Linked DNA regions of Homo sapiens: all the other regions are linked to region 6. The links are contacts of gene promoters, found by promoter capture Hi-C in blood cells and fetal thymus (Javierre and others, 2016). All regions are on one chromosome and are shown on one strand. The core of a region is centred on a gene start or on the middle of the fragment in contact, and the rest is flanking DNA. Distances in the headings are between cores, read along the strand shown.

Region 1 (2,893 bases), core at 360-2,859, 220 kb before region 6:
CGTAATCTTGGCTTACTGCAACCTGTGTCTCCCAGATTCAAGCGATTCTCCTGCCTCAGCCTCCCGAGTAGCTGGGATTACAGGCGCCCGCCACCACACATGGCTAATTTTTTTGTATTTTTAGTAGAGACAGGGTTTCGCCATGTTGGCCAGGCTGGTCTTAAACTCCTGGCATTAGCTTATCTGTCCATCTCGGCCTCCCAAAGTGCTGGGATTACAGGCGTGAGCCACCGCGCCAGGCCTAGGAAATGAATTTCATTCTGTACCACTGGCTGAGCAAAGCTTTACATCTGTCCAGGCTCCCGAGTGTTAAGAGATGACTTAACTGTGTCCCTATTTACTCTCCATATACGTTTCATGGGTTTTTGGGAGTAAACTGATGGCATATAACCTCTTATCTAGGTTTTCACAAATCTCTAGGATCACAGAAAAACATACTAAGTAGTAGTGTAACTTGTCTTTTTAAAGAGCTTGTGTTGAACACAGAATATGACATATTTGAGGAGTTCTTAGACTTTTGGATTCCTCGGGCCCTAACATAGTACCTAGTATAGGATGCCCTCCATAAATAACCCAGTTGATGAATGGGCAGATGAATGAATGTAGATGAAAATACTTCATTGTCTACTTTTAGGGTTTAATTTTGACCATCCATGTGCTTAATATTTATAGTCTAATGGTTAATATGCTGTTCGGCAGATAAGGAGCATCCATGTGTCAGGCACCTTGTGAGGCAGCATGAAGGACTGAGACAGATGAGGTCCCTGTTTGAAGAGGCAGGAGATAAGCCGGAAAAACAATTCAGGAAGCAAGATGATACAGGTTATGCCGAGTGTCTTGAAGACCATCAACAGCGTGATGCAACAGAGTAGCTCAGAGGGGAAAGGGGCCATCAGGAGGCAGCCTGTCCTAGGAGGCAACATTTGAGCTGGGCTTGAAGGCTGAGAAGAAGCCAGCCATGTAGGGAGTGAATAGAAAGCACTGAGGAACAGCTGGGTGTGGTGGCTCATATCTGTAATCCCAGCACTTTGGGAGGTCGAGGCAGGTGGATCACCTGAGGTTAGGAGTTCAAAACCAGCCTGACCAACATGGTGAAACCCTGTCTCTACTAAAAATACAAAAAAAAAAAATTAGCCAGACATGGTGGTGCGTGCCTGTAATCCCAGCTGCTCGTGAGGCTGAGGCAGGAGAATCACTTGAACCCAGGAGGCGGAGGTTGCAGTGAGCCGAGATCATGCCATTGCACTCCAGCCTGGACAACGAGCGAAACTCCATCGCAAAAAAAAAAAGAAGGAAAGCACTGAGGAAGTGGAGCACTCAACGTGCCTGAGGATGAAGAGGAGGCCAGTGGTTTGTGCTGGAAGAGGTGGGTGGGGACAGGATCCTTTAGGGCTTGTGGGCAGTGCTTAAAGGTTTGCCATGAGGTGCCCGTGAAGAGGGTTAACCAGGGGAATGCCATGATCTAGTTTATTTCATACAGAAAGATCTCAGGGAATAGATATTGGGAACAGGAGTGGAAAACGAGGGACCAGTTGGCTAGCCCTAGTCCAGGAGAGATCAGTGACATGGCAGAGGGCATGAAGAGAAGCAGGTGGGTGGGGGAAATGTGGAGGTTGAACTCGCCAAGTTGACTGTAGAAGATGCAGGAAGGGGTGTGATCTAGGACCATACCTGATTTCTTTGATGCGTTGTTTATGTCTGTAGAAAATACATGCTAATAGAAGTAATAACTGTTCGAGGACAAAGTTATTAAGCCATGGAACAACTCCCTTTACATTTATGTTGTATCAAGACCTTGATTTAAGCCAGACACGGTGGCTCATGCTGTAATCCCAGCACTTTGGGAGGCCGAGTGTCCCCAAAGGATCACTTGAGGCTAGGAGTTTAAGACCAGCCTGGGCAACGTGGCAAAACCTTGTCTCTGCTGAAAATACAAAAATTACCTGGGCATGGTGGCACATGCCTGTAATTCCAGCTACTAGGGAGGCTGAGGCACGAGAATCTCTTGAACCTGGGAGATGGAGGTTGCAGTGAGCTGAGATCGCGCCACTGCCCTCCAGCCTGGGTGACAGAGAAACACACTGTCTCAGAAAAAAAAAAAAGACTTTGACTTTCTTTTCTTTGGTTCTCCAGTGTAGATGAGCAGACGTATCCATCCAGTGCAATCTTGTGTATTTGGCCATTTTTCCAAGATGTTTTCACCCTTCAGTACCCTTTCTGTCATTCTCAACTGGTTATGAGACCTTTGAGCATTTTTCTTTGTTCTGGCATGAAAATAAAGAATCAGACTAAGAAGAGAAGATGGGTTTAAGCCTTAATTTATATGGAATTATTCTACCTTTGTTCCCAGTTTATAAGAATCCATTCATAATTACTTTTTTTTTTTTTTTTTTTTGAAGACAGAGTTTTGCTCTGTCACCCAGGCTGGAGTGCAGTGTCACGATCTCGGCCCCCTGCAGCCTTCGCCTCCCGGGTTCAAGCGATTCTCCTGCCTCAGCCTCCCAAATAGATGGGATTACAGGCATGCACCACCATGCCCCACTAATTTTTTGTATTTTTAGTAGAGACGGGGTTTCACTATGTTCGCCAGGCTGGTTTTGAGCTCCCGACCTCAAGTGATCCACCGGCCTTAGTGCTGGGATTACAGGCATGAGCCACTGCGCCCGGCCCCGTAATTACATTTGAAGTTACTTCACATGCAGCATCCTCTGTAGTTCCAACAATTGATACTCTCTCATAAATATAAAATTTGTTCCATATGTATTTCAATTCAAAGAGGGTAACTTTCTTAGTAACTTTGCAGGAAATTCACTGAGCATTTTGAGAGCTAGAGAAGCCATTTCCTTATAGCTGTAAAGTAGAACTAAATACTGAGTTTCTGATAGGATTCTCT
Region 2 (2,917 bases), core at 1-2,500, 140 kb after region 6:
TTGTAGGAGTTCTTTATATATTCTAGATACAAGGCTATTATCAAATATACATCTGCAAATATTTTCTCTCATTTTGTAAGTTGTCTTTCCTTTCTTAATGGTGTCCTTTGAGAAATAAAGCTTCCCATTTTGACAAAGGACAATTTCATTATTTTTTCTTTTATTGCTGTGTTTATCATATTTGAAAGGTATCATATCTAAAAGGCTGCTGCCTACCTGAGCTAAGGTCATGAAGATTTATACCCATGTTTTCTTCCAAGAGTTTTACAGTTTTAGCTCTTATGAGGTGGTTGATCTATAATGATTTAATTTTTGTATATGATATGAATTAGGGGTCCAACTCTATTCTTTTGCATTGTGCGTATCCAGTTATTAAAGCATAATTTCTTCAAAAGACTATTCCCATCAAATAGTCTTGGCACCCTTGTCCGGAATCGATTGACCACAGATACATGTTTTGGGTTTTTTCCCTGAACTCTCATTTCGAATCTATTGTCCTATGGCCATCCTTATGCCAGTACCACGCTGCCCACCCTCCCCGCACCTTATGGTTTTCCCCTAAGATTTCTGCACCCTATACACTGTCTCGTTTACTGTAGCTTTGTAGTAAATTTTGAAACCTGGAAGGGTGAGTCCTTGAGCTTTGTTCTTCTTTTTCAAGTTTGTTTTGGCTATTCTGGGCCCCTTGAATTTCTGTAGGAATTTTAGTATCCATTTATCAATTTTTTTTCCCAGAAACTAGCTGAGATTTTGATGGGAATATTGTGTTGACTCTGTAGATCAGATCGAGGAGTATTGTCATTTTAGCAGCGTTCAGTCTTCTATTCATGAACAAGCAGTGTCTTTCCATTTATTTAGATTTTTTTTCTCTCTTTTTTTTTTGAGACAGAGTCTCACTTGTCAGGCTGGAGTGCAGTGGCGCGATCTCTCCTCACTGCAACCTCCGCCTCCCGGGTTCAAGTGATTCTTATGTCTCGGCCAGGCGCCACCACGCCCGGCTAATTTTTGTATTTTTAATAGATGGCCTAGATCTTTGATTTCTTTGAACAATGTTTTGTAGTTTTAACACTTGTATTATTTTTGATGCTATTGTAGATGAAATTGCTTTGTTAATTTTATATTTTAGTTTGTTCATTGCTAGTAGATAGAAATTTATAATTGATTTTTCTATATTGCTTTTATGTCCTGCAACCTTGTTGAACTTGATTATTAGTTCTAATAATTTTTTAATGGATTCCTTAGGTTTTTTACATGTAATTGACTACGTCATCTATGAACAGAGTTTTATTTCTTCCTTTCCCATATGGATCCCCTTTCTTTCTTTTTTTTTCTTTTTCCTTTTTTTCTATTTATCCTGGCTAGAAACAAGTACAATGTTGCATATAGAAGTTGAGAGAGTGCAAATCCTTGTTGCTGTTCTTCATGGGGAGAGCATTCAGTCTTTTTCACATTAAGTGTATTAGTCATGGGTTTTTTGTAGATGTTATTTATCAGATTGAAGAAGTTCCCTTCTGCTTTAATATGTTGTGTTTTAGTTATGAAGGGTTGGTGCATTGTATCAAATGCTTTTCTGGCAGCTATTCAGATTACTGTGTATAGTTTTTGTCTTTTGTTGATATGGTGTATTGCACTGATTGATTTTCATCTGTTAAGCTATCTTGCATTTCTGGGTTAAATCAGACTTGGTCATGTTGCTGAATTCAGTTTATTAGTATTTAGTTGTGTATTTTTAAAAAGTCCATATGCATAAGACATATTGATTTGTCATTTTCTGATAACTTTGTCTGTATTTTCTATGCATGTAATACTGGCCTCAGTGGGAAGTGTTCTAGTCCCTTCTGTTTTTTGGAAGAATTTGTGAAGGATTGGTGGTAATTAGACTTTAAAACATTTGATAGAATCCTCCAGAGAAGTCATCTGTTCTTGGGCTTTTCTTTGTGGAAAATTTTTATGTTACAAATTCAGTGTATTTACTTATAAGTCTATTCAGATATTCTATTTCTTCTTGAGTCTATTTTGGCCCTTTGCATCTTTCTAGGAATTTCTCCTCTACATGTAGGTTATCTAATTTGCTGGCATATAATTGTTCATAGTATTTCTTTGCTATCCTTTTTATTTCTAGAAGGTCAGTAGTGTTGTCACTTCTCTTATCCCTGAGTTTAGTAAGTTGAGTCTTTTCATTTCTTTGTCATTCTAGCTAGTGGTTTGTCAATGTTGTTGCTCTTTTCAAAGAACCAACTTTTGGTTTTATTAACTTTTATTTTGTTTTTATAGTCCGTATTTGCTTTATTCCCACCTAAATCATTATTATTTCCTTCCTTAATCTGTTTCAGATTTATTTTGCCCTTCTTTTTTCTGGCTTCTTAAACTGAAAGCTTAGATTGTTTACTGTATTTTAACTGTTATCTCCATTCCCCCAAGCTCCATTTTACAGGACAGTTTGTGAGTATGAGTGACCAATGCTGAAACAGTCAGGGCATGCAAACTTTCTCCTTTGGGGACAGAGTTACAGGGCAACTGAATACATGAGGGGGGCATACAGAGTACAGTTGACACAGCTGTTTCATTATGGTGCAGTCCATATAGCATTGTGATTCTGGGGCAAAAACTTGGGCTCTGGGGTTTGGGAACCTGGATATGAGTTCTACATCTGCCACCTAATAGTTGTGAGACTTTGAACACTTATTTAATCTTTGTAAGCCTCAGTCTCCACATCTGCAAAATAGCAGAAAGATAATTAGTACCTCATAGGATTGTCGTGAGGATTAAATGAAATAGCATATGTGAAGCACCCAGAACTGGTGGTAACAACTGTTCAATAAAGATTAACTATTCTAATCTGGTTGTTGTTGTTAGGTCAGATGGGCCTTTGCTGAGTCAACTCCATGTAAAGTAGCTACAGAGCTTGTTGTTGTGT
Region 3 (2,717 bases), core at 21-2,520, 160 kb after region 6:
AATGATCCATATTGTTTGTTTTTTAATTGAAGACCCCCCCAAAAAAATTTGGAAGTTGGTAAGAATTTCAACTGCTGCACAGTCTGCCTTACCAGCAGTAAAACCAAAATTCTTAAGTTAAAAACATTTTCTAAAAAATGAGTTTTTCTAACAGCTTTTCACTTTATATGCTTGAAAAATCTAGATCTTCACAGTATTGTTGTTGTTTTATAGTTTCCTGTTATTTAAACTATGGGGTAAGAAGCAGGAATTTATCAGCAGTGTTGCCCATATTTGATTTTTAAAGCCATTTCAGAGTCAGTGTTTAGAGAAGGAAATTATAATTTTAAGATGTGATAATTAAAATAAGGAAAAATTAATGGAATTAGCTTTATGATAATTAGCATATAAAGGTTGACAATGATGACATTTCCTCTCAGAGTAAAGTTCTTGTATAAGAAGACTTTTATCATTGTTTTCAAACCAATAGTTAAATTTATGAAATGGAATTATTTAGGTGTAGATTATATGCTTTAAAGTATTAACATTAGTTTCACTTTCATTATAAATAATTGTTTAGTTATATTTTATATGCTATTCAAAATTTGTTTTAATATTAACTCAAATGACCAGAGAAGTAGAATCTTTAGTCATTTCTGTCTGGCAGTGGAGCAATTTGAATAGCATTTGAAGTAGAAGCTAATCTTTTAAAGAAAAATACTCTTCTCTCTTAACCCTTCTCCCTTCTCATTATGATGAATCAATGTTGCAACAAAATGTATATGTGAGAAATGCATATTCTTATACTTTTTATTAGCCTACATCTGATATTTAGTGTCAAAAGATAAGTTTGGGTTCAAAGAAAAGTGTAACTGGTTTTCCCTGATTGCTTTTTGCCAAAGGTGGCTTAATATGGGTTTGTATTTTATAACAGAGATTAGGTAATATGTTTATTTTAAAATGTGACAAATGAGAGATGGCACCATTTGATTAAAAATGTATTTAAATATTTCATTTTGAACTCTACTTTGGTCTAATTTGTAAAGGAAATTTTTTAATGTACATATCACAAAGTATTAAATATCCAAGAATTTCAGTTATTGCAGATTCCATTTTCTTATTTTGACATATTCATTTAAAAAGACTTGCATCCTGAAATTGTATACTTGTATTAGATTTGTTCCAAATGCCTTTTTGTAAGACGTCTGCCATTCTCAAGATCATCGTTATTTGTGTCTTTTACTCTGGATGACTCTGTGGGGGAGGTGGGTGTGGGGGGCGACCAACAGTCACAGTGTTAACTATTCACGATGGAGAACGCTTGCTAGCCACCTTGTCCTGTATAAGTCAGTGCTGCTTCTCGGTTCCAAGCTAAGGTTCAAAGGTTTAGACTAACTTCACAGATCAGAGGTCAGGTACGAATTGCTGCAATTTGTAGTTCAATTCTGCCGATATGACAGAATTTCACAGCTATGATGATTGCTTTTTTCCACTTCTGCACAGAGGCCAGGCTGGGCAGTTAACAGCGTAATTTGTACAAGTCAGCCCTCAGCACCCAAGTTTAATGAGTAACTAACTGGTGCCTTAGGTTTCACTGGTACAAGGTGCATATTATAAAAAGGGTCAAATGTCAGTGCACAAAGACGGAGTGGGGAGGGGCATGATAATCTCATCACCACCATCTGTGAATCATATGTAAAGATTCAGTAATTTGTGTTTATTTGTAAAATTATATTTCCACTGTAAGAATGTTAGTATGTTCATTTTCTTTGCTATTTGAAAGAGGTGGATAATTTTGTTAGGTGTTAGCAGGAAACAACTGTCTGATTAGAGATTATTAACTAAGCAGTAGAAAGTGAAATTGCAGTTTTGTTTACTCATTTTGTGGGGTCTCTGAGTCCTCAAAAACTTTCTAAAGTGTGATAGTTTTTTAAGAAGCTAGGAAACAAGTCAGAACACCAGATATTTCTGAGCCCATGATATTTATGCCTATCTGATATTCTCTATTCGTCACCCAAAAAGTTGAACTCCTATCTATATTTCTAACCTAGGTTGAGAATATCATTTACTGTTTAAAGCTGAATATTGGGGTTCTTGAAAAAATTCCTACCTGGTAGGCCTTAACAATTCATGAATTTGCCATTCAGGTTTAACTCCTCATGTTGACTCTGAAGCTGTAATATATAATGCATATAGAATCATTTGTCATTTTTGTTATAGCACAGATTTCAGTTTTCTACTCTTCCAGATTGGAGTGCAGCAGCAATTGGATTCTTCCATAGAAGGCCTGGGGTTTGAACCCCAGCTTCTTCACTTCCAGCTAAGGGACCTTAACAAATGGGCAGCCTCATTATACCTCAGTTCTGGCATCTCCAGAATGAGTAGCATCATAGATCTTGCTTCATGAGGTTGTAGCAATGATTAAATAAGACGATGTATGTGGAATGCTTAGTGCCATACCTGGTGCATGATAAACATTCAATGAATGTTGATGGTCATTACTATTATTAATATTATTATGTTACTTAGGTTGTGAGTTCACCTAGCCTACCACATATACCATCTCAATTTGGTTTAGACTTGGTCTTGGCTGTGTTCATTTCATGAGGGACATCGTTGGATGTGGCATAGGATAAGGTGATTTGGGAATGTTTCAGGATGCATTTCTTTTGAATGTCATGGGGAAGCTTATAAAATTCCTCCATTTCAAGTCTAGCACTCTTTTAGATGCTATCTTT
Region 4 (2,814 bases), core at 269-2,768, 210 kb before region 6:
TGGTACTAGCTTCTGTCACCATTTAAAGAAGAGACACAAGAAACTATAGCTATAACCCTTCCACTTCCTGGCTTATAAAAGAAAACGCAATGATTCTCATGACTGCAGGCGTTAAATGGAGTGAGACTCCATGTATGGGCAGCAGATGGCTCCTGGCCTAGCCTTGTAAATGGCTAGGGTATGGCATGAGCTGGAGCAGAGAGCAGAAACGGGTCTTGCTGCCAAGTGTCAGACAGATCGTGTCTGATGATCACAGGTGGTAGAATTTCAGATAACCACAGGTTCCTGGGAATCTAGAAGCTGTTGGAAAAACTGGGAGTGATGTTCTTTCTGGCCCTTGGAGATCTTTTGGGCCAGCTGTGTGGTTTTACAGACGAGATGCTGAAGCCTGGACCCTGCGTGGCTGTGTGAGGCGCCCGGTTAATGAGTATGGCTCCCAGCCTGTCTGAGATGGGACCCTCCTGGTGCTCTGGAAGCCGGAAGTGCTAACGGAAGGATAGCCCTCAAGGGCTCCCAACCTGAAGGCTCCTCAAAGGTGCCTGCAGTGGACCAGCCAGCCCCCGTGTCCCATGCAGCAACAGAGCTGGCTACGGGCCCTGCCTGCTTGGCTGCCTGACGCCTGATGGCCATGTGGCACCCGACACACTCTTTCCTCCCCAGCCCACATGCTCGGCCTGAGCTGATCGCACCAGTTTAGGTTTGCACAGTCTGTCAGGAACACTCTGAGTGTGGAGGTGTGTTTACTACAAAGCAATTTCTTCTCCCCCTCAGAATACAAGAAAATCAAGGACCTACCCTGTTGCTCTTACGTATGACCACAGTGGCCTTTAGCATCATGACACTGGGATTGGGGAAAAACCCAGCTGTGTAAAAAACTAATGGGTGACATTTTGATCACTGTGGAAGCCAGCTGATGGGATATAGAGTTTGTTTACTATCTTCTCAATTTTTATGTGTGTTTGGAAAGTTCCAGAAGGAGAAGAGTAAAAAACAGAAAGGAGAGAGATGGATGAACTCTGTTCTTTTAACTCCTGTACTCCTCAGGCTGGGCCCCAAACTCCTTCTCCCAGGTAAGGGTCCAGGAGGCCAAGGTCACTGCAGACCTCCCTGTGGCTGAGACCACCTGGCCTGTCTCCCACTGTTCTGGAAAGCTCTCTACCCCTTTCCCTCAACCCCCTTTCTTTGATATCTTTGGGACCAGCCTCTCCTGGGCTTCTCCTGCCCTCTTCCCCAGCAATTTTTTTCCCACCTTCTCATTGGACCTCCTGCCTCAAACAAGGCCTCTAAATGTCTTTCTTCCCCAGTCGCCAGGCCTTGGTTTGACATGTTTTTTGTTTGTTTGTTTGTTTGTTTGTTTTTGAGATGGAGTCTTGCTGTGTTTGCCTAGGCAGGAGTGCAGTGGTGGAATCTCAGCCTACTGCAACCTCCATCTCCTGAGTTCAAGTGATTCTCACACCTCAGCCTCCCAAGTAGCTGGGATTACAGGTGCACACTACCGCACCCGCCTAATTTTTGTATTTTTAGTAGAGATGGTGTTTTGCCATGTTGGCTAGGCTGGTCTTGAACTCCTGACCTGAAGAGATCCACCCGCCTTGGCCTCCCAAAATGCTGGGATTACAGGCATGAGCCACCGCGCCCGGCCAGCTTTGTCTTTTCATGCTCCACACTCTCACCTGCTCCCCCGACTTCACCCACCTCCCAGATCCATGTCTCCTGCCCAGACCGCAGGCCTCAGTGCAGGGTCCCAGCACCCACCTGCTTGGTGGGCCTCGTCACCTGGTGCTCCTCAAGCACAAGCACCCCACACGTCTTGTCCACCCTGGAGCTCATCAACTTCTTGCACCAAACCAGCCCTCCTTCCCTCCCCCACTCCAGTGATGGGGTGCTTAGCTGTCCTAGCAGGGACCCCAGAGTTATTCTTAATCGCCTCCCTCATCCACGTCTCTCACACATCTGCCACTCCTGCCAGCTATCCTTCCAACACCTCTTCCATCTGTCTCCTCTGCCCTGTTCTCGCAGATGCTGATTTAGCCTGCACTTTGCTCATCCCCCTGCGCTGGACCACCGCAGTGGCCCCCAGCAGTCCCCTTCCCTTGGCCGGCTTTCTCCCACCAAACAAATCACATGGGGTCACCTGTAATATTGCAAGACTGGGATGGCTCGGAGTAAGGGCCAGTCCTGGCAAGACACAAGGCACTGTGCAAACTGAGTACAGACTCCCGCACAGCACCCCTGCAGCGGCACCTGAGCCTCACCACAGTGCCTGGGGCATATGCATAGGGCAGCTGGGAGTTCTCGCAAACAACTGGGGGGCCTTCTGACCTCCCTGCCTTTGCTCATACCTGTTTCAATGTTCTTTGAGCTGTCTGCTGCCTTCTTACTGTGATGAGGTCCTTCTTACACTTAAAGAAGCAGCTCAAACCTCATTGCCCGTCTGTAACATTAGACGGGCTTGCAAGGCTGGAACCTTATCTGTTTGAATTTGCCTCACTGGTTCCTGATACATAATATCAGCTAGAAGGTGCTTGTAGAAGTGAATTGAATTTTTTTTTTTTTTTTTTTAGACGGAATCTTGCTCTCTCACCCAGGCTGGAGTGCAGTGGCGCGATCTCGGCTCACTGCAACCTCCACCTCCCGGGTTCAAGCGATTCTCCTGCCTCAGCCTCCTGAGTAGCTGGGACTACAGGCGCCCGCCACCACGCCCGGCTAAGTTTTTGTATTTTTAGTAGAGACGGGGTTTCACGTGTTAGCCAGGATGGTCTCGATCTCCTGACCTCATGATCTGCCACCTTGGCCTCCCAAAGTGCTGGGATT
Region 5 (2,841 bases), core at 87-2,586, 180 kb before region 6:
TTTGTGTCAGAAAAATCTCAAATCATGAATAGATTTAAAATGAAAATTTCAGTTTTTATGTTTAATATGAATTTATCATTTCTTAGTAAGTGGTTCATCATGAATAATAAATGATTCTATTTCCAGGCTTATATTATTAAAATATATTTAATAATAAGTTAAAGCAATTAAACACTATTCCACATGAGTTAAACTATCAGGAAATCTTTTATTAATCATTGTGTCCTGGCCAGGTGCCGTGGCTTACGCCTGTAATCCCAGCACTTTGGGAGGCCGAGGCAGGCAAATCACTTGAGGCCAGGAGTTCGAGACCAGCCTGGCCAACATGGTGAAACCCCGTCTCTGCTAAAAATGCAAAAATTAGCCGGGTGTGGTGGCAGACTCCTGTAATCCCAGCTACTCGGGAGGCTGAGGCAAGAGAATTGCTTGAACCTGAGAGGTTCAAGCCAAGATTGCACCATTGCACTCCGGCCTGGGCAACAAAAGTGAAATTCTGGCTCAAAAAAACAAAAATTAGCCAGGTGTGGTGGCAGGTGCCTTTAATCTCAGCTGCTTGGGAGTCTGAGGCAGGAGAATCACTTGAACCCAGGAGGTGGTGGTTGCAATTAGCTGAGATCACACCACTGTACTCCATCCTGGGTGACAGAGCAAGACTCCATCTCAATAATAATAATAATAATAGTGTCCATGTGACACAGCTACAAGCCAAAGAACAGCAAGGACAGCCAGCAACCACCACAAGCTGGGAGAGCGCAGGGGACAGGCCTCTCCAGCACAGGCCCCAGGAGGAATCCAACCGGCCAGCACCTTGCCAATGCCTTGGTTTAGGACTCCCAGCCTCCGGAACTATGAGAGAATAAATGTTTGTTATCATAAGCCACCAAGTTTGGAGGAATTTCTTTCAGCAGCCCAGGAAACTAACACACATGACAAAGGGGATTTTGCAGATGTAGGATAGGTCCCACGTTAGTTACCCCGAAGATAGGGATATTATCTGGGTGGATCTGACCTAATCACATGACCTTTGAAATCAGGGTCTAGAGGTCAGACATGGAAGAAGTCAGAGATTCAAAACACAAGATGCTATGACAGCTACTGCAGGTGCACAGATTGGGGAACTCGGGACAAGGAATAAAGTGGCCTCTAGGAGTGGAAAGCAGTCAAGTGACAGCAGCAAGGAGACGAGGACCTCAGTCCCGCAAACACAAGCGTGGGTTTGGAAGTAAACTGTTCCCAGAGCCTCCAGAGACTTCAGCCTAGCTCATATCCTGAGCAGAGAACCTGGCTGTGCCATGCCAGATATATCTGACTTATGTGACCTAAGTAATAGATGTTTTTAGCCACTAAGTTTGAGGTAATTTCTTAAAAAGAAAACAAACACACAATGGCTCACACTTGGTGAGGAAGCAATGCCAGGCTGCAGATGGCAAGCAGTAGAAGAAGGAACAAGAGGACAGAGAAGTGAGCTCGCTGCCGTGGATAACACTATTAAGGCTGGAAAACCCACCAGAAGGCTATGTTGAGAGGAGGGTCCCAAAAGTACACCCACTATCAAGCAGCAAGGAATGGCCTGGTGAGAGGGGCACCACAGCACTGAGAGGTTTGGTGGTGGTTTTCCTCTGCAGGCCAGGGCTGACAGTAGGGGATGCAGTGACACAACTGGGCTCATTGACAGCAATGAAAATAATAGGATCCTGAAACAAGAGAGACCAGGTGAGCAAATTAACCACCAGAAGCCAGGCATGTGCAGATACTGATGACCATAATGAGTACTAAGACCAGAGAAGCATGTACTCTGGTGCGTGCACACTAAGACCTCTCATGCACTGCTCACCTTCGTGCCCTCCACTCTTACTAGGTAACAGAAAATCAAAACACAGAACACAACCTAGACCTCAAGCTCAAAGACTGTTCACTATTAGAAAATGTAATTTTCTAATAGAAAATTGGAAAATGTAATTACTAAATGTAATTCACTACCATGTTAAAATGTCAGATGAGAAATAATATCTGATCATATCATTAAATGCTGCAAAGGCTTTTCATAAAACTAGGCATCCATTAGTGATTTTTTTTTTTTTTTGAGATGGAGTCTTGCTCTGTCACCCAGGCTGGAGTGCAATGGCGTGATCTCGGCTCACTGCAACCTCCGCCTCCTAGTTCAAGCGATTCTCCTGCCTCAGCCTCCCAAGTAGCTGGGATTACAGGCGCCTGACACCACGCCTGGCTAATTTTTTTATTTTTAGTAGAGACGGGGTTTTGCCACATTGGCCAGGCTGGTCTCGAACTCCTGACCTTAGGTGATCCGCCCACCTCAGCCTCCCAAAGTGCTGGGATTACAGGCGTGAGCCACCATGCCCGGCCCCATTAGTGATTTTGAAAACCTCTTATTGTGCTGTTGGCTTAAGTATAGACATATAAATCAACGGATAGAATGAGAATAGAATGAGAGTCCAGAAATAAGCCCATGCATCTATGATTAGTGGGTTTTCTATTTTCTTTCTTTTTGTTTTAGACAGGCTTTTGCTCTGTCTCCCAATCACAGCTCACTACAGCCTTGACCTCCTGAGTAGCTAGGACTACAGGTAGGCACCACCACACCTGGCTGATTTTTTGTGGAGATGGGGTCTCTCTATGTTGCCCAGGCTGGGATTAACTAACTGATTTTCAACAAGGGTGCCAAGACCATTCAATAGGGGAGAATAATCTTTTCCACAAGTGTTGCTGGGAGAACTGGATGACCACACGCAAAGAAGGAATTTGGACTCCTAACTCTTATCATATACAAAAGTTAATGGTGATTGTTGTACAACTTCGTGAATGTATTAATATTTTAAGGCA
Region 6 (3,036 bases), core at 187-2,686:
TTCAAGACTGTCAGCAATGAATATAAACTGTTTGTAAAAATCCCATCGTTAGAATCTTCCAGAAACTGAGGCTGGGAGAGATTAAATATCTTGCTCATGGCCTCACAGCTGGTGAGTGGCAATGCTGGTGCTACAGCCCATGTCTAACTCTGACCACACACTCTTCTTCAGAAAAAAGCCATAATGTAAATAATAATAAGAAGAATAACAACAACAATAACGGCAGCTAACACTGTGTGCTAGGCACCGTTCTAAGCTCTTTGCATGTGTTAACTCAACCAGCAAAGAACCATTTTTGGAACATTCTTTCACTAAAGTAGCCCGGTATTTTTTTCTTTCCCCTCAGCTGAATGACACTGCAACCCGAAATCACAACTCTGTTTTAGGTTCCTGGTGGTGCCTGCTTCCTCTTCTAGTTTGTTTAGTCACAGAATTCGATTCCTGTTGGCCCATTCCGCGCCTACAAACAGGCTTAGCGCTCCACTGAAATGCGGGAGGCTCCTTAACTCTTGTATAAACAGGTAAGGCGGAGGGGGTGGGGCGCGGATTGCGGACATCTGGGTTTCTTGGGAATTGGGATGGGGTGGGGGTTCGAGCCAACTCCCCAGAGAGCAGGCAAGGTGAAGCGAGGGCTTGGCTGCTGTTTCTAAATGCAGTGTTTTTTTGTTCCCTTTCTAGAAACCCTCCGTAACTCTAGGTCAGAGCGCACTAAAATGAGCCACTTCTGAACGAGCAGCGCCCAGGCCCCAGGCCCTGCTGCGAAGGCCCCGGCAAAGGTCAGGGCCCCGTCCGCGTGACGCTCCTGCCTGCGCGCGGCCAAGCCATGCTCGGCCCCAGGTAAGGACGCCCCGGGAGCTCGCCCCGGGAGCTCTCCCCGGGCACGCGGGGGTCGCAGAGATCCCACCTCGTCCAGCGACTTGTTTATGGGGGGAAGAAGGGGAGCGGGGCGGTTCCGATCGGCTTGAAATTCAGCAGCAGGTTCCTAATTTCTCCAACGTGGTTCTGGCTGGGTTTCTCGGAGCAGCCCGAAGGGGGCCGAGCGTCTGACTCGGACAGATGCCCCCAGGTGGAGCAGGTGCCACTTCTGGGTGTCTGAAAGGCATGTGACTTTTGGGGCGGGGAGAGAAGTCCGTCTGGTCAAGTCCCCCAATCTCTGCCATCAAGGCCGATTTTCTTTGAACCTTCAGCAAAGGTATCTGCGCTCCTAAAAAACAACAGGAATGTGGCACTGGCCTTTAGCCAGGGGAGGCTCAGCCAGCAGGATAAAATTTCAGGGCAGATTTACGGGAAGTTGCCGGTGTTGGGAGTAAAAATCTGGTTTGGTGAGTTTAAGGGAAGGGAGTAGACGAGAGACAACCTTGCTACTGTGAGGCGGATGGCCTCGGCAGGGGGCGGGCGGCGGGAGGAGAGAGGGAGGGAACCGGGAAGGGCCCGCAGACTAGACGCTGAGCGCTCCCGTGCGCAGCGCCCCACGCAGCCGGGACGCGGCGCCGCTCTGCGGGTGGAACCGCCGCGCGCTCCCGGCCTCGGGAGCTGAGCCCGAGAGAACTTCGCTGCCTTCGGGTCGCCGCTCCCGCTTTCCACTGTGGAATGTGCAGCTTGGGATAGAGAGAAACCAGGGTTTGGGGAGCGGTCCTCCTGGAGACTTTCTCTCTGCAAGTCTCCAAGGTTAAGCAATTCTGACCCACTGGAATTCCCAGAGCCTGGGAGTTAAGCCTAAAACGCTCTGTTGCTTTAAGCGGCGCGGTGGGGAGTCGCTGGACACTCCTTATTTTGGTTTTACATTAAAAAGAAGGCGGACGAGAAGATGTTGTAGGTGACTTCCTAGCTGTGTTAAGTTGCTCCTGGGCTGTGAATGGTGTTAATTTCTGAAGTGGGCGGCTCCAAAAACTTAACAAGGAAAGGTAAGGTGGTTTTTGGTAGTCCTTCTAACTATTGTCCCTTAATCTTACATTTGGGTCCCAATTTTTGAAGTGTATATTTTTTTCTTATTCTTCTCTCTTTAGCTCTTATCCCTCATGCTATCACTCATCTTCTGTCTCTTGGTATATTTAGTGGGAAATAAAGGGTTTATAAAACGGTTTTAAAAGGGTCAACCTCTGGGAAGGCAGATAATCATATACAGTCAGTCCCATCGTGTTTCCTGTAGTGATGAATCTTTTCCCATAAAAGAAACTGATTTTTTTTTTTCACTCTTGAAAATACATGATTGGACCGCCCAGAAGCACAGGTGACTTTAGACTCAGATTATTACAGTGAGACTGAGGAAGCGTCCTGGACAGGAGGCATCTCATTTAAGTGTTAACCAAGGCAGAGGGGGGTCTTCCTGCAGTAATTTACGTCTGAAAGTAACACTCGGTAGAGGTGTAGTTGTTTCAAATTAAAAATTCAGCCTGTAGAAAAGGGTAGGACTGACGAATTATGACATCTGACAAATTAGCAGTTGACCGGATATTTAAGAAATCAGATAAAATAAATGGAAGTGGAATTTTTCAAATAAATGACTCATTTTTTAATTAGGTAAAAGTTCAGCCACTCTTGGGTACTGTCCCAAGGCATAAGTGATAGGAAGATACCATCTTCAAGGTACTTACAGGCCATTACCGACCTGAACTAAAAATCAAACCTTTTTTTTTTATCTGGTGGTATTTTAATGACTCACTGTTTTCTTTAGCAGGAATATAGATTTTAAAATGTATTCTTTAAAAGTTTTAAGGCAAGGTCATACGAATTTCTCAGGGGAGGGAAAGCAAAGGGTTGACAACCCAACATGAAGGAGTTGCCGAAGTTTTGAGCTCAAAAGGTTGGCAATTAGATCCAGAGCATTTGAGAATTGCAGGTGCCGATTCTAAAAGGTGAAAGGTGGTCAGCGGCGTAACACACAACCTCTAGATAAACCAAAGTACTCAACCTAGAGCATAAGAAGAGATCACTTTGTGGGAGTTTGTGTTGCTATTAATTTAAACAATGATCTTTGTTAGATCAATGACTTGAAGTCTTGGAGGGAACTAAAATCAACCCAGTCTGAAAGGAAAA
Region 7 (2,856 bases), core at 1-2,500, 140 kb before region 6:
CGATCTCTTGACCTCACGATCCGCCCACCTTGGCCTCCCAAAGTGCTGGGATTACAGGTGTGAGCCACCGTGCCCAGCCACCTCAGTTTATTTTTAAATGAAATTGATATTACTCTTTTTTGGCTTTTTACTACTTCTTTTGGCTTTTTGTAATATACATTTACATTTTTTAAATTTTCAGAAATATTTATGTAGTTTTTGACTCAAGTTTTTGAATGGCATTACTAATGTCTAACATATCAGAACTGTGGTTCTCTTTAAATATAAATTGAATAAAGTCATCTGCTGCATAATGACATTTAGGTCAATGATGAACTCTGTTTATGATGGTGGTCCCATAAAAGTTTACTACGGTAGTACCTTTGCTATATTTAAATAGGTTTAGATACACAAATACTTGCCATAGTGTTATAATTGCCTACAGTATTCAGTACATAACATGCTGTGCAGGTTTGTAGCCTAGGAGCACTAGGTTATACCATATAGGATAGGTGTGCAGTAGGTTATACCATCTAGATTTGTGTAAGTATGTTCTACGATGTTCCCATCAGAAGAAATCACCTAACGACACATTTCTCAGAATGTATCCCCATCATTAAGTGACACTTGATTGCAATTTCTTTTTTTTTTTTTTTTTTTGAGATGGAGTTTCCCTCTTGTTATCTAGGCTGCAGTGCAGTGGCATGATCTTGGCTCACTGCAACCTCCGCCTCCCGGGTTCAAGTGATTCTCCTGCCTCATCCTCCCAAGTAGGTAGGATTACAGGCATGCACCACCACGCCTGACTAATTTTGTATTTTTAGTAGAGATGGGGCTTCTCCATGTTGGTCCAGGCTGGTCTCGAACTCCCGACCTCAGGAGATCCACCCGCCTCGGCCTCCCAAAGTGCTGGGATTACAGGCGTGAGCCACCACGCCTGACCTTGATTGCATTTTCTTAATGCCAAAAGATAATCTTCAATGAACTGCTTGAATTTCCCAGAAAAATGTAAAATCAGTCATCTGCTTCAGACTCTTTACTAGGTAAGTGAAACAGGTGAAGAGTTTCTGAAGAAGGAGCGGAGAGAATGTGAGAGATAAAACCCATGAACAAGTATTTAAAGGGCATTTTGGCAATTAGAAATTCTGGAGCATTATGGGGAATGAGAGAAACTGGGGAAGATAAGAAAAAGAATATATCTGAGCAAATGTGCCTTATCCCAAAAATGCATGGCTGGTTTAACATTCATAAACCAGTCAATGTAAATCACCTGGCCACTTAATACAATAAAGAAGAAAAACAATCACTTCAGTCTTCTAAAACTGTTCTCTGTTTTCTTAACTCAGCAAGACTGCTGTTTTCTACTTTCTGCATTGCAGTTTGAGAATTCTTCCAGGCATAAAGCCAGGACTATTCTAGGGCTCACCTCATTTGTTTTGTTCTTTCAGGGATCAGGTTTCTGTGCTGCTTCTTGTCTAATGTCCAAAACCTTTACGTCCTATGATATATTTTGGCCAGTTTTCTAGTTGTTTACAGTAGAAGGGGAAGACTGATCCAAGATATTCTATCATGACCATACAATTACATTTTGAAAATATCACTCTACCTGCCATGTGGAATAGATTGCAGGAAAGTGAGAGTTATAGGCCAGGGAAATGTATCTAAGGAAGCTATCATGGTAGTCCAAGTGATAGATTATGGTGGCATAGATTTGGATGGTAGTAGTGGAAATGGAAAGAAGCACACAGGCTCAGTGTATGTTTTTGAATTGGAGTTACAGGACTTGATGCATTAGACACAGATTGAGTGCAGGGGAGGGGAGGAAAGAAGAATCAAGGATGATGTCTAGGTAGATGGTGATGCCTTAGCTGTGAAGTGGAAGACATCAGAATAAATGGTTTTGGGGTGGTTTGGAAGAAGAACTGACTAAGTCTTTCCCCTCCTTTCTCTACTTTTTCACTGCTTATTTTCCAATTGCTGCCTCACAACAGTCCAACAAATAATTTAATAGAAATAGATTATTGGGCTGGTGGAAAGGCATGGGGAGTGAGAAACAAGGGGTTGTGGTCTCTCTTTTTTTAACCTGGTCACACAGTATTAAAAAGACAGTTACATTTTATACAAAGAATGGGTTCTTAAAGACCTTTCATATGTAAAAAAAATGATAATAGGTATCATCTTGGATTACATGTCTAAACCCACGAATAAGTGAAGAAAAAGATACATGTTGGTGCTTAGGGGTATAAGAGTGAAAAAACACAAGGATTCCCAGGAGGAACAACAACAAAGGTCAAACCACTTTTACAAGGAGGAAATCATTCTCATTCAGCTTCTTGCTAATTACTTCTTCTTCTATAACCTCTTAGAGTTAGTCTTTATCTGGCCGAGCACGGCAGCTCACACTTGTAATCCCAGCATTCTAGGAGGCCGAGGCGGGAGGATCACCTGCGGTCAGGAGTTTGAGACCAGCCTGGCCAACATGCTGAAACCCCATCTCTACAAAAACACAGGCATAATGGCGCACACCTGTAATCCCAGCTACTTGGGAGGCTGAGGCAGGAGAACTGCTTGAGCTCAGGAGGTGGAGGTTGCAGTGAGCCGAGATTGTGCCATTGCACTCCAGCATGGGCGACAGAGCAAGAGTCCGTCTCAAAAAAAAAAAAAAAGAAAAAAAAAGAATTAGTCTTTATCCTCTAAGTAGATATATGCTAAGGTATACTTTGAGCTTACAGTGACTGAACTTCCTTGGGAACTACAGTCTCAAGCCCTAGAAGGCAGATAGAGTTGGCTTCCTGCTGTCTTTCTGTGGTTTAGAATACCACTTCATTGGCTACAGGGAATTGGCTCGAGAGACTGCACCTGACCTGCACTGAGGCA

The links. Contacts are between HindIII fragments. The CHiCAGO score rates a contact against its expected background, and 5 or more counts as called.
Region 1: a fragment that was not itself captured here is called in contact with the fragment with the promoter of RBM47 in region 6 in 1 of 17 cell types (neutrophils); the score reaches 8.4 in neutrophils.
Region 2: a fragment that was not itself captured here is called in contact with the fragment with the promoter of RBM47 in region 6 in 3 of 17 cell types (neutrophils, monocytes and M0 macrophages); the score reaches 13.0 in neutrophils.
Region 3: a contact is called between a fragment that was not itself captured here and the fragment with the promoter of RBM47 in region 6, in 2 of 17 cell types (neutrophils and monocytes). The highest score is 10.0, in neutrophils.
Region 4: a fragment that was not itself captured here is called in contact with the fragment with the promoter of RBM47 in region 6 in 1 of 17 cell types (neutrophils); the score reaches 10.1 in neutrophils.
Region 5: a fragment that was not itself captured here is called in contact with the fragment with the promoter of RBM47 in region 6 in 1 of 17 cell types (neutrophils); the score reaches 8.6 in neutrophils.
Region 7: a fragment that was not itself captured here is called in contact with the fragment with the promoter of RBM47 in region 6 in 1 of 17 cell types (neutrophils); the score reaches 5.2 in neutrophils.

What each region holds. Positions count from the first base shown.
Region 1 is chr4:40,851,854-40,854,746 of GRCh38, reverse strand. The region is part of intron 12 of APBB2 (amyloid beta precursor protein binding family B member 2); the gene reads left to right. Among named protein-coding and RNA genes, the nearest start is that of NSUN7, 100 kb to the right of the region's middle. The HindIII fragment of the contact is 2,649 bases long and covers 285-2,893 here.
Region 2 is chr4:40,488,711-40,491,627 of GRCh38, reverse strand. All of the region lies in intron 2 of RBM47 (RNA binding motif protein 47), which reads left to right. Among named protein-coding and RNA genes, the nearest start is that of MIR4802, 12 kb to the left of the region's middle. The HindIII fragment of the contact is 2,255 bases long and covers 123-2,377 here.
Region 3 is chr4:40,472,890-40,475,606 of GRCh38, reverse strand. All of the region lies in intron 2 of RBM47 (RNA binding motif protein 47), which reads left to right. Among named protein-coding and RNA genes, the nearest start is that of MIR4802, 28 kb to the left of the region's middle. The HindIII fragment of the contact is 2,797 bases long and covers 1-2,668 here.
Region 4 is chr4:40,835,023-40,837,836 of GRCh38, reverse strand. The region is part of intron 12 of APBB2 (amyloid beta precursor protein binding family B member 2); the gene reads left to right. Among named protein-coding and RNA genes, the nearest start is that of NSUN7, 86 kb to the right of the region's middle. RefSeq lists an enhancer at 1,496-2,065. The HindIII fragment of the contact is 8,515 bases long and covers 1-2,814 here.
Region 5 is chr4:40,803,681-40,806,521 of GRCh38, reverse strand. The region is part of intron 10 of NSUN7 (NOP2/Sun RNA methyltransferase family member 7); the gene reads right to left. Among named protein-coding and RNA genes, the nearest start is that of NSUN7, 55 kb to the right of the region's middle. RefSeq lists an enhancer at 1,682-1,801. The HindIII fragment of the contact is 3,130 bases long and covers 1-2,841 here.
Region 6 is chr4:40,628,264-40,631,299 of GRCh38, reverse strand. RBM47 (RNA binding motif protein 47) reads left to right here and starts at 1,436. Exons shown (of 7, transcript NM_001098634.2): 1 at 1,436-1,904. RefSeq lists enhancers at 1,573-1,642, 825-1,702, 1,703-2,579. The HindIII fragment of the contact is 8,976 bases long and covers 1-3,036 here.
Region 7 is chr4:40,767,994-40,770,849 of GRCh38, reverse strand. All of the region lies in intron 4 of NSUN7 (NOP2/Sun RNA methyltransferase family member 7), which reads right to left. Among named protein-coding and RNA genes, the nearest start is that of NSUN7, 19 kb to the right of the region's middle. The HindIII fragment of the contact is 3,396 bases long and covers 1-2,856 here.